Linked DNA regions of Homo sapiens: all the other regions are linked to region 1. The links are contacts of gene promoters, found by promoter capture Hi-C in blood cells and fetal thymus (Javierre and others, 2016). All regions are on one chromosome and are shown on one strand. The core of a region is centred on a gene start or on the middle of the fragment in contact, and the rest is flanking DNA. Distances in the headings are between cores, read along the strand shown.

Region 1 (2,876 bases), core at 183-2,682:
CATATCAGAAAAGCTTTGAGAGTGTCCTGATCCCTGCAAAGCCTCTAATAAATTGGTCATTTGGGCCCTGTGGTGTTCTGATTTCTCTGGCACATTTTCCAAGTGCCCCCTTTCGGGGTTTGGGATACTTTGTGGGTGGGGTAGAAGCCCCTTCCACTCTGTGGTTGTGGTTTAGGGAATGTGGGTCAACCCAGTGTCCTCTCCGAAACACCTGCCCCCCAGCTCCTCACAGTGGAGTCCACTGAGGTTCTATCCTGCTCTGTCTCCAAGCTAATCCTGATTGAGGCAGGACACTCCAAAAGCCTCAGCTGCTTATGGGGAGGGGTGGTCCTCTGCATGGGACGCTTTTTTTTTTTTTTTTGAGATGGAGTGTAGGTCTGTGGCCCAAGCTGGAGTTCAGTGGCTTGATCTCCGCTCACTGTAACCTCCGCCTCCTGGGTTCAAGCGATTCTGCTGCCTCAGCCTCCCGAGTAGCTGGGATTACAGTCATGAGCCACCACACCCAGCTAATTTTTGTATTTTTAGTAGAGGAGGGGTTTCGCCCTGTTGCTCAGGCTGGTCTTGAACTTCTTTCTCTCTGTCTTTGGTGTTTTGTTTTGTTTTTTTACTTTTATTTTTTGGTCTTAAGCTTCTGATTTATTTATTTATTTTTAAGATGGAGTCTTCCTCTGTCACCCAGGCTGGAGTGCAGTGGTGCGATCTTGGCTCACTGCAACCTCCACCTCCCAGGTTCAAGTGATTCTCCTGCCTCAGCCTCCCTCCCAAAGTGCTGTGATTACAGGCATGAGCCAACTCACCCAGCCTCTAATTGCTTTTAGATGCGAATCCTTGGGATCGCTTATTTTCCTTTTTTTTTTTTTTTTTGAGATAGAGTCTTGCTCTGTCGCCAGGCTGGAGTGCAGTGGCACAATCTCAGCTCACTGCAACCTCCGCCTCCCAGGTTCAAGTGATTCCCCTGCCTCAAGCCTCCCAAGTAGCTGGGATTACAGGCACTTGCCACCACACCCAGCTAATTTTTTGTATTTTAGTAGAGACGGGGTTTCACCATGTTGGGTAAGATGGTCTTGATCTCCAGATCTCGTGATCCGCCCACCTCGGCTTCCCAAAGTGCTGGGATTACAGGCGTGAGCCACCATGCCCGGCCTTCATTTTTAAAAAACAGTAGAAATAGCTTCCTTTCCTTCCTTTTTCAAGGCAAATGCCCCCTACTTTATAATTGCTTTTCAACTTTGGATGTGGTAAAGACATTCCTGCAGGGTTCTAAGCACAAACCGCTTTTGGCTTAGCTAGACACGATCCAGAGCACTTGCGTCCACCACTTGCCCTCAGTGGCTGCTGCTCGTCTGAGACTGCAGCGCCCTGGGTCCGCGCAGGCGCATTCCACACCGACGCAGGTCCGTCCTCCAAGTGCGCATGCGTGCAGTCTGCGCGGGAAAGAGTGCCGCCTCAGCTGAGGGCAAGCGAGGAGATGGCTGTGAGGCAGGCGGCGACGGCGGGCACTCCCGGGCCCAGGAGAGAGGAAGAGGCGGCGCTTCTATTCGAGAGGGCCCATTACCGGCACGACCCGCGCTGGCTGCTGCCCGTGACCCCCCGCCTGTGCCTGGCCTGCGCGCTGGAGCTGCTGCCGGACCCCGGCGTGTCGGTGCGGGCGGAACCTTTTCTTCAGAAGACCTGGGTTTGGCCATTTCCCTCAGCAAACGCGGCCAGGCCCTTGCCAGACCCGCTCCGGTGAACCCGACGCGAAACCGGGCCCCCGCGCTGTGTTCACTCTCCTCCCTGTCAGCCCGTCCCGGACCCGGCCGCAGCGGCCTCTCGGGCCCCTCAGCCCCAGGCCGGCCTGCGGGCCTCCGTGGAGCCCGGTCCACTGGCTCTGCGCCTGAAAGGACGGAAATCCGGATCCCCCGGGACCTCACCCAGTCTCAGGGACACACCTTCCCGCCTTCCGCCTTCTGGCTCCTTCCCTTTGCTGCCCCTGCCTCCATTTCCCGGGGATTCGGCCTTAGCTCAGGCTCCCGCCATTTCAGCCTCCCGCCATTTCAGCCTCCACTCACCTGCGGGCCAGGGGCGCATGCGGCGGCCGCTCCTCATTCCCTTCAGCTGTCGGGGTGTGAATCGGAGGAGGGGCAGTCTGGGCTCCGAGGGGACAGGAGTGACAGGTTACAGCCGGGCAGAAGTGGGGGTGAACGGGAAGACTGTTCCTTGGGCAGAGCTGGCCAAAGCGGGCTGCCTGGGTCCTCATTGCCTACCGCGTTTGCAATGAAGTGGTTTTGTTTGTTTCGAGACGGAGTCTCGCTCTGACACCCAGGCCGGAGTGCAATGGCGCCATCTCCGCTCACTGCAACCTCTGTTTCCTGGGTTCAAGCGATTCTCCTGCCTCAACCTACCCAGTAGCTGGGATTACAGGCTCCCGCCACCACGCTCGGCTAATTTCTCTATTTTTAGTAGAGACGGAGTTTCATCATGTTGGCCAGGCTGGTCTCGAACTCTTGACCTCAGGTGATCCACCCGCCTCGGCTTCCCATAGTGCTGGGATTATAGGCGTGAGCCACGGTGCCCGACCTGCAGTGAGTTTTCTTGTCCATGGAGGCATCCAAGAAGACTTTGGGAGGTCAAGTTTCTCTCCAATTCATGGGAGGGGAATTCGTGAGTGGGTGGATTGGCTAGATCAGCAGTTCTCAATTTTTTTTTTTTTTTTTTTTTTTTTTGTAGAAACGGTCCCGGGGGTCTCCCTGTGTTGCCCAGGCTGGTCTTGAACTCCTAGTCTCAAGCAATTCTCCTGCCTTGACCTCCCAAAGTCCAAAGTGTTGGGATTGCATCTGTGAGCCACCGTGCCTGGCTGCGTTCTCAAATATTTTGATTTCTTTCTTTCTTTTTTT
Region 2 (2,876 bases), core at 120-2,619, 190 kb after region 1:
GTTACCCCTGGTCCTTGTCCTTCCACAGAGCTACTTCCTCAGCCGAGCCCAGAGCCTGTGTGGCCCCGAGCACAGTGCTGTTCCTGACTCCCTGCGCTGGCTCTGCCACCCCCTGGGCCAGAAGTTTTTCATGGAGCGGAGCTGGTCTGTGAAGTCAGCTGCCAAGGAGAGTCTATACTGTGCCCAGAGGAACCCAGGTGAGAATACCTTGGAGCCATTCAGAATTGGAGAAAGCCATGCAAACCGCCGGTACTACAGAGTCACTGCACCAGACACGCGGAGACACGGGTTGTCTCTTAATCTTGTTGAGTCCGTTTGTTTGTTTGTTTGTTTGTTTGTTTGAACCAAAGCTCAGGGAGGTTGAGTAACTTGCTTAAGGTCACAAGCCTGATCAGAAATTGTCAGTGGCTAAGCTGGGTGTGCAGCTCTGCTCTCTCTAACATTCAGAGCCCATGGTCCTTACATCACACAGCAATAAATTGTGATTAAGCTCCAAGGGTACTCTTAGCCCTTGTTTTGGGCACTTTGGAGACACAAAGGATGTGTGAGGCTTGCTTTCCCTGGCCTCCAGGTCTCTCCCATTGGGAGAGCAGACAGACATAAATGGAGAGTTTGGGAACAATAGGTGGCAGGCAGTCATCAACTGCTCAGAGTGGTGACAGGGACGAGGCTTCAGGCATTGGAAGGAGGTGCTGGCTTTCTGTCCCTGGCATTTGATAGTGATTGGAGTTGACTCGCCCGGCCTTGGAGCAGTAGAGGCTGGTCAGGATTGACTTAGACCTTGAGTGCTCAGTGGCTGTCTGCTTTCTGCTGTACTTTTCCTCCCCTCTCAGAATTGGAGTCTGTGGGGAGAGTAAGGTTCTACAGGTATAGGGGTGTGTGTCACACATTGGGGGAGTTCACTGTCCTTTTCTTTTTTAAATAATAACTGTATTGCTCAACGTGAGAATTGTGTGCAACACCAAAATATAAAGGATGAAAGCAAAAGCAATCCTAAATCTTTCTACCCCACCCCTGCTGGCTAAACATGGACTTCTCAGTGGCTTTGTCATCTCTGGCAGTCTCTGGCTCCAGGCCTTGTTACTTGGAATGTGTTCATAAGTGTCCCTCCTCCTGGTCATTAGATCGAGGCCCACATATCTGCCACATGTGAGGAGAGAGAAGGGGCTGGTGATTTGAGGCCTGCCAGTAAAGAAACTTGCTGGTGACAGTCAGCTATCCAAGCATTGCAAGGCCCCGTGTCTAGCCAGTTCAGACAGGTCACTGCTGATGGCACGTTCCATGACAAGGCTCTGGAAAAACCGGAGCATGTTCTTCGTTGTCATGAGCGTGGCAGCAGCTACCACCTTTTTTTCCTTGCCTGGTGGTTCTCCTTAGCCACATGGAGAAGAGAAATCCTCTGAGACATTCCATTTTCTGTTTTCTGATCCAACTCCACCTGACAGCTCCCAACCTTAGAGTACTGAGCACTGTGCCAGGAGACACAGCACCCTCCCCCACACCCCCTCCCCACCGGAGCTCATCCAGAACTAGTCTTGAGCTCTTCAGGCTGGGAGTGAACACTCTCCCCCATCCTCCAACTGTTTAGCACAGTAGTTCTGGGCTTTGGTGGAGAAGGGGCATCTGATCCCCATTCACAAGGCATGGCTGTGTTTGGAGTTTCTCTCCGTAAAGACAAAGTGGGCTCATAAATGAGCTCCATTTAACCCCCCTTGCCTGTCTCTTTTCCAGCTGACCCCATTGCGCAGGTCCACCAGGCCTTCTGCAAGAACCTGCTGGAGCGAGCTATAGAGTCCTTGGTGAAACCTCAGGCCAAGAAGAAGGCTGGAGACCAGGAAGAAGAGAGCTGGTAAAGTCCCCAGACCAGTCCCCCTGCCTTAGGACCTGTCCACGCAGGCAACTCCAGGACAGCCTGAAGGCCTGCACTCCTGGAGGGAAACAAGCCTGGCATCGGGTTGGCAGGGCAATCAAATGGTTCCTTTGTATTTAATTTCTCAAAAATGAGAGCCCTATGTTAACTCTGACCTGGCCTTTCCTCCTAGACCAAGTGCGTTTTTTTTTTTTTTTTGGAGACGGAGTCTCGCTCTGTCACTCAGGTTGGAGTGCAGTGGCGCAATCTTGGCACACTGCAAGCTCTGCCTCCTGGGTTCACGCCATTCTTCTGTGTCAGCCTCCTGAGTAGCTGGGACTACAGGCGCCTGCCACCATGCCCGGCTAATTTTTTGTATTTTTAGTAGAGACGAGGTTTCACCATGTTAGCCAGGATGGTCTCGACCTCGTGATCCGCCTGCCTCAGCCTCCCAAAGTGCTGGGATTACAGGCGTGAGCCACCATGCCCAGGCCTTTTTTTTTTTTTTTTTTTTTGAGATGGAGTTTCGCTCTTGTTGCCCAGGCTGGAGTGCAATGGACCAGTCTCAGCTCACTGCAACCTCTGCCTCCCGGGTTCAAGTGATTCTTCTGCCTTAGCCTCCCAAGTAGCTGGGATTACAGGCGCCCACCACCATGCCTGGCTAATTTTTGTACTTTTAGTAGAGATGAGGTTTCACCATGTCATTCAGGCTGGTCTTGAACTCCTGATCTCGGGCAATCCGCCTGCCTCGGCCTCCCAAAGTGCTGGGATTACAGGCATGAGCCACCACGCCTGGCAGGTGCACCCATTTTTATGTATCCCTTTACCAAGCGGAGTCAGTACTTGGACCAAGTCAGGGATTTCATTAGCTTGCTCTGCTTTTTGGGGTAGGGAGCAGGGGCCTGTTGAAAGGGGATGGGGGCTGGGTGCAGTGGCTCACGTCTGTAATCCCAGCACTTTGGGTGGGAGGCCAAGGTGGGCAGATCACGAGGTCAGGAGATCGAGACCATCCTGGCTAACACGGTGA
Region 3 (2,876 bases), core at 226-2,725, 160 kb after region 1:
AATGGTGTATAGTCAGTTCTGCTATAGTTCATCATGTGCATTTCTAAAAATCATGCCATGCGAAATCATGCAGTAAAAAACACGGAGTGGGCATGTTGGCTCATGCTTGTAATCAGGAGGCTAAGGTGGGAGGATCGCATGAGGCAGGGAGTTCAAGACCAGCCTGGGCAACAAAGCAAGACCCAGTCTCTCTTACAAATAAAAAATAAAAATTATCTGGACATGGTGGTGTGTGCCTGTACTCCCAGCTACCCAAGAGGCTGCAGTGGAGGATCCCTTAAGCCCAGGAGGTAGAGGCCACAGTGAGCTATGATCACATCACTGCACTCCAGCCTGGGTGACAGAGTAAGACCCTGTCTCTAAAACAGAAACCCAGAACTTACTGTGAAATGGAGGGTTAAGGATCACAACAATAAAAAATCTCATAGGTGACCAAAAAAAGGAAAAGATTTATTTTTTAAAAAAGATAGGGACCTGCCGGGCACAGTGGCTCACACCTGTAATCCCAGCACTTTGGAAGGCTGAGGCGGGTGGATCACGAGGTCAGGGGTTCGAGACCAGCCTGACCAACATGGTGAAACCCCGTCTCTACTGGGCGTGGTGGCGGGCGCCTGTAATCCCAGCTACTCAGGAGGCTGAGGCAGGAGAAGTGCTTGAACCCAGGAGGTGGAGGTTGCAGTGAGCCGAGATCCCGCCACTGCACTCCAGCCTGGGCGACAGAGCAAGACTCCGTCTCAAAAAAAAAAAAAAAAGTGGGGGGACCTAATAAAACAGTCACACAGTTTTATAGACCAGAAAAACTAAGAAATATATAAATACCACAATGAAAAGGCACTTTGGCTTGAAAAACACCTGAGGTTTGCTTGTGGGAAGTAAGTGTCATTAGGTTACAGCTTGGGAGTTATCAGGAAGTGGTGGAAGGAGGGCTGTCTGAAGTCCAATGGAAAGTTCTGACATCAATGTGATGAATGTGATTCATAACACATGCAGTGACCTGATGAAGCTGGTAGATGTTTAAGGTGCCTGTGTATGTGTGTGCACATTTTGTGCATTCCTGCATGGCTCATTTCAGCCGAATATGGTTTTCTGCACTTCCTAGTGTTTTTCTCATGCATAAGCAAATGCAAAATTTATATTATGCTCAGATTGTTTCTGGATGTATCTGATGCATTTGAACAAATTCACATTTTCAAAGTAAGAGTTAAAGCAAAAGTGTCAAAAAAAAAAAACCCACTATGAATAATGTGTACTAGCTAATACTAAGTGCCAGGCATGGTGCCATAGATTCCACATGAGTTATCTCATCAATCCGTGAGTTAGCTGTAATTGTTAGCCACAATGTACAGTTGAGAAAAACTGCAGCTGAAAGAGGTAAAACTTGCCCCAGGTTCCAAGGCTAGGATATGGTGATTCTTTTTTTTTTTTTTTTTTTTTTTTTTTTTGAGACGGAGTCTCGCTCTGTCACCCAGGCTGGAGTGCAGTGGCGCAATCTCGGTGCAAGCTCCGCCTCCCAGGTTCTCGCCATTCTCCTGCCTCAACCGCCCAAGTAGCTGGGACTACAGGCGCCCGCCACCACGCCCAGCTAATTTTTTATATTTTTAGTAGAGACGGGGTTTCACCGTGTTAGCCAGGATGGTCTCGATCTCCTGACCTCATGATCCGCCCGCCTCGGCCTCCCAAAGTGCTGGGATTACAGGTGTGAGCCACCGCGCCAGGCCGACATGGTGATTCTTAATTGCTATGTCATTCTTTTTTTCTGAACATATTAAAAGAGAAATAACAAAGTGGGGGAAGTACTTGCAGACATTTAAGAAGAATAAGTATCTATAATATCTGGAAGTTTTTTAAATCAGTGAAAAAAAAAAAAAGACAAAATAGCCTGATAGCAAAAATGGACGAAGGTCAAGAGCAGGCGGTTTACAAAGGAAGAAATGCAAATGCTCAATAAAATTGGGACTTTAGAAAAAAAAAAGACTTTCAGCCTCAGTTAGTACTCAGTCATGCAAGACAAAACAATTCCATGTTGGTTTTTTCCACTATCAGATTGACAGAAATGGCTGTGAGGAAACACTAGCAGGAGCATAGATTTTTGAAACCTTTCCAAAGCATGTATAGTGGTCCTTTGACCCAGCCATCTAACTTCTAGGAATTTATCCTAAGAAAATAGAGAAGTGGGGGAACAAAAGAGTTGTTAATAATGCCGAATAACTTGCTGGGTGTGGTGGCACACGCCTGTAATCCCAGCACTTTGGGAGGCCAAGTCAAGAGGATCGCTTGAGCCCAGGAGTTTGAGACCAGCTTAGACAACATAGGGAGACTCTGTCTCCACAAAAAAAAGATTTCTTTAAAGTTAGCCAGGTTTGGTGATGCATGCTTGTAGTCCCAGCTACTCAGGAGTCTGAGGTGGGAGGATTGCTTAAGCACAGGAGGTAGAGGCTGCATTGAGCCCCACCACTGCCTTCCAGCCTGGGCAAGAGAGCAAGACCCTGTCTCAAAAAAATAAAAAAAAAAGATAAGGCTGAAAAATTTAAAGCAATTTTTCATCATTAAGTTAAACAAATTTTAATACACTGGTACAGTACAATGGCACACAGAATGATACCGTGGGACTCTGAAAAGGATGATGTTACGTCTGTAATGGTTGACACTGAATGTTCTTCATATTTATTAACCAAAGGGAACAGGGTGCAAAGTAGCATGTTCAGTGTGATCTCATTTTTGTAAAACAATTTGCATGCATGTGCATGCTTAAGTGTGCAAGCAAGCCTTGTAGAGGAAGAAATCTGGAAGGGCACACATTAAAACATTGACAATGGGCCGGGCGCTGTGGCTCACGCCTGTAATCCCAGCACTTTGGGAGGCCGAGGCAGGTGGAT

What was found. The method cuts DNA at HindIII sites, captures the fragments that hold promoters and counts their contacts. A CHiCAGO score of 5 or more calls a contact.
Region 2: a contact is called between a fragment that was not itself captured here and the fragment with the promoter of MEI1 in region 1, in 1 of 17 cell types (total B cells). The highest score is 6.3, in total B cells.
Region 3: a fragment that was not itself captured here is called in contact with the fragment with the promoter of MEI1 in region 1 in 1 of 17 cell types (megakaryocytes); the score reaches 6.3 in megakaryocytes.

What each region holds. Positions count from the first base shown.
Region 1 is chr22:41,698,071-41,700,946 of GRCh38, forward strand. It overlaps MEI1 (meiotic double-stranded break formation protein 1), which reads left to right and starts at 1,433. Exons shown (of 31, transcript NM_152513.4): 1 at 1,433-1,642. The coding sequence starts at 1,469. It also overlaps the pseudogene C22orf46P. RefSeq lists a silencer at 1,406-1,505. The HindIII fragment of the contact is 5,602 bases long and covers 627-2,876 here.
Region 2 is chr22:41,893,089-41,895,964 of GRCh38, forward strand. SREBF2 (sterol regulatory element binding transcription factor 2) reads left to right here. Exons shown (of 19, transcript NM_004599.4): 12 at 29-197; 13 at 1,732-1,849. Among named protein-coding and RNA genes, the nearest start is that of MIR33A, 6.4 kb to the right of the region's middle. The HindIII fragment of the contact is 7,044 bases long and covers 1-2,876 here.
Region 3 is chr22:41,858,387-41,861,262 of GRCh38, forward strand. All of the region lies in intron 1 of SREBF2 (sterol regulatory element binding transcription factor 2), which reads left to right. Among named protein-coding and RNA genes, the nearest start is that of SREBF2-AS1, 25 kb to the left of the region's middle. The HindIII fragment of the contact is 6,200 bases long and covers 1-2,876 here.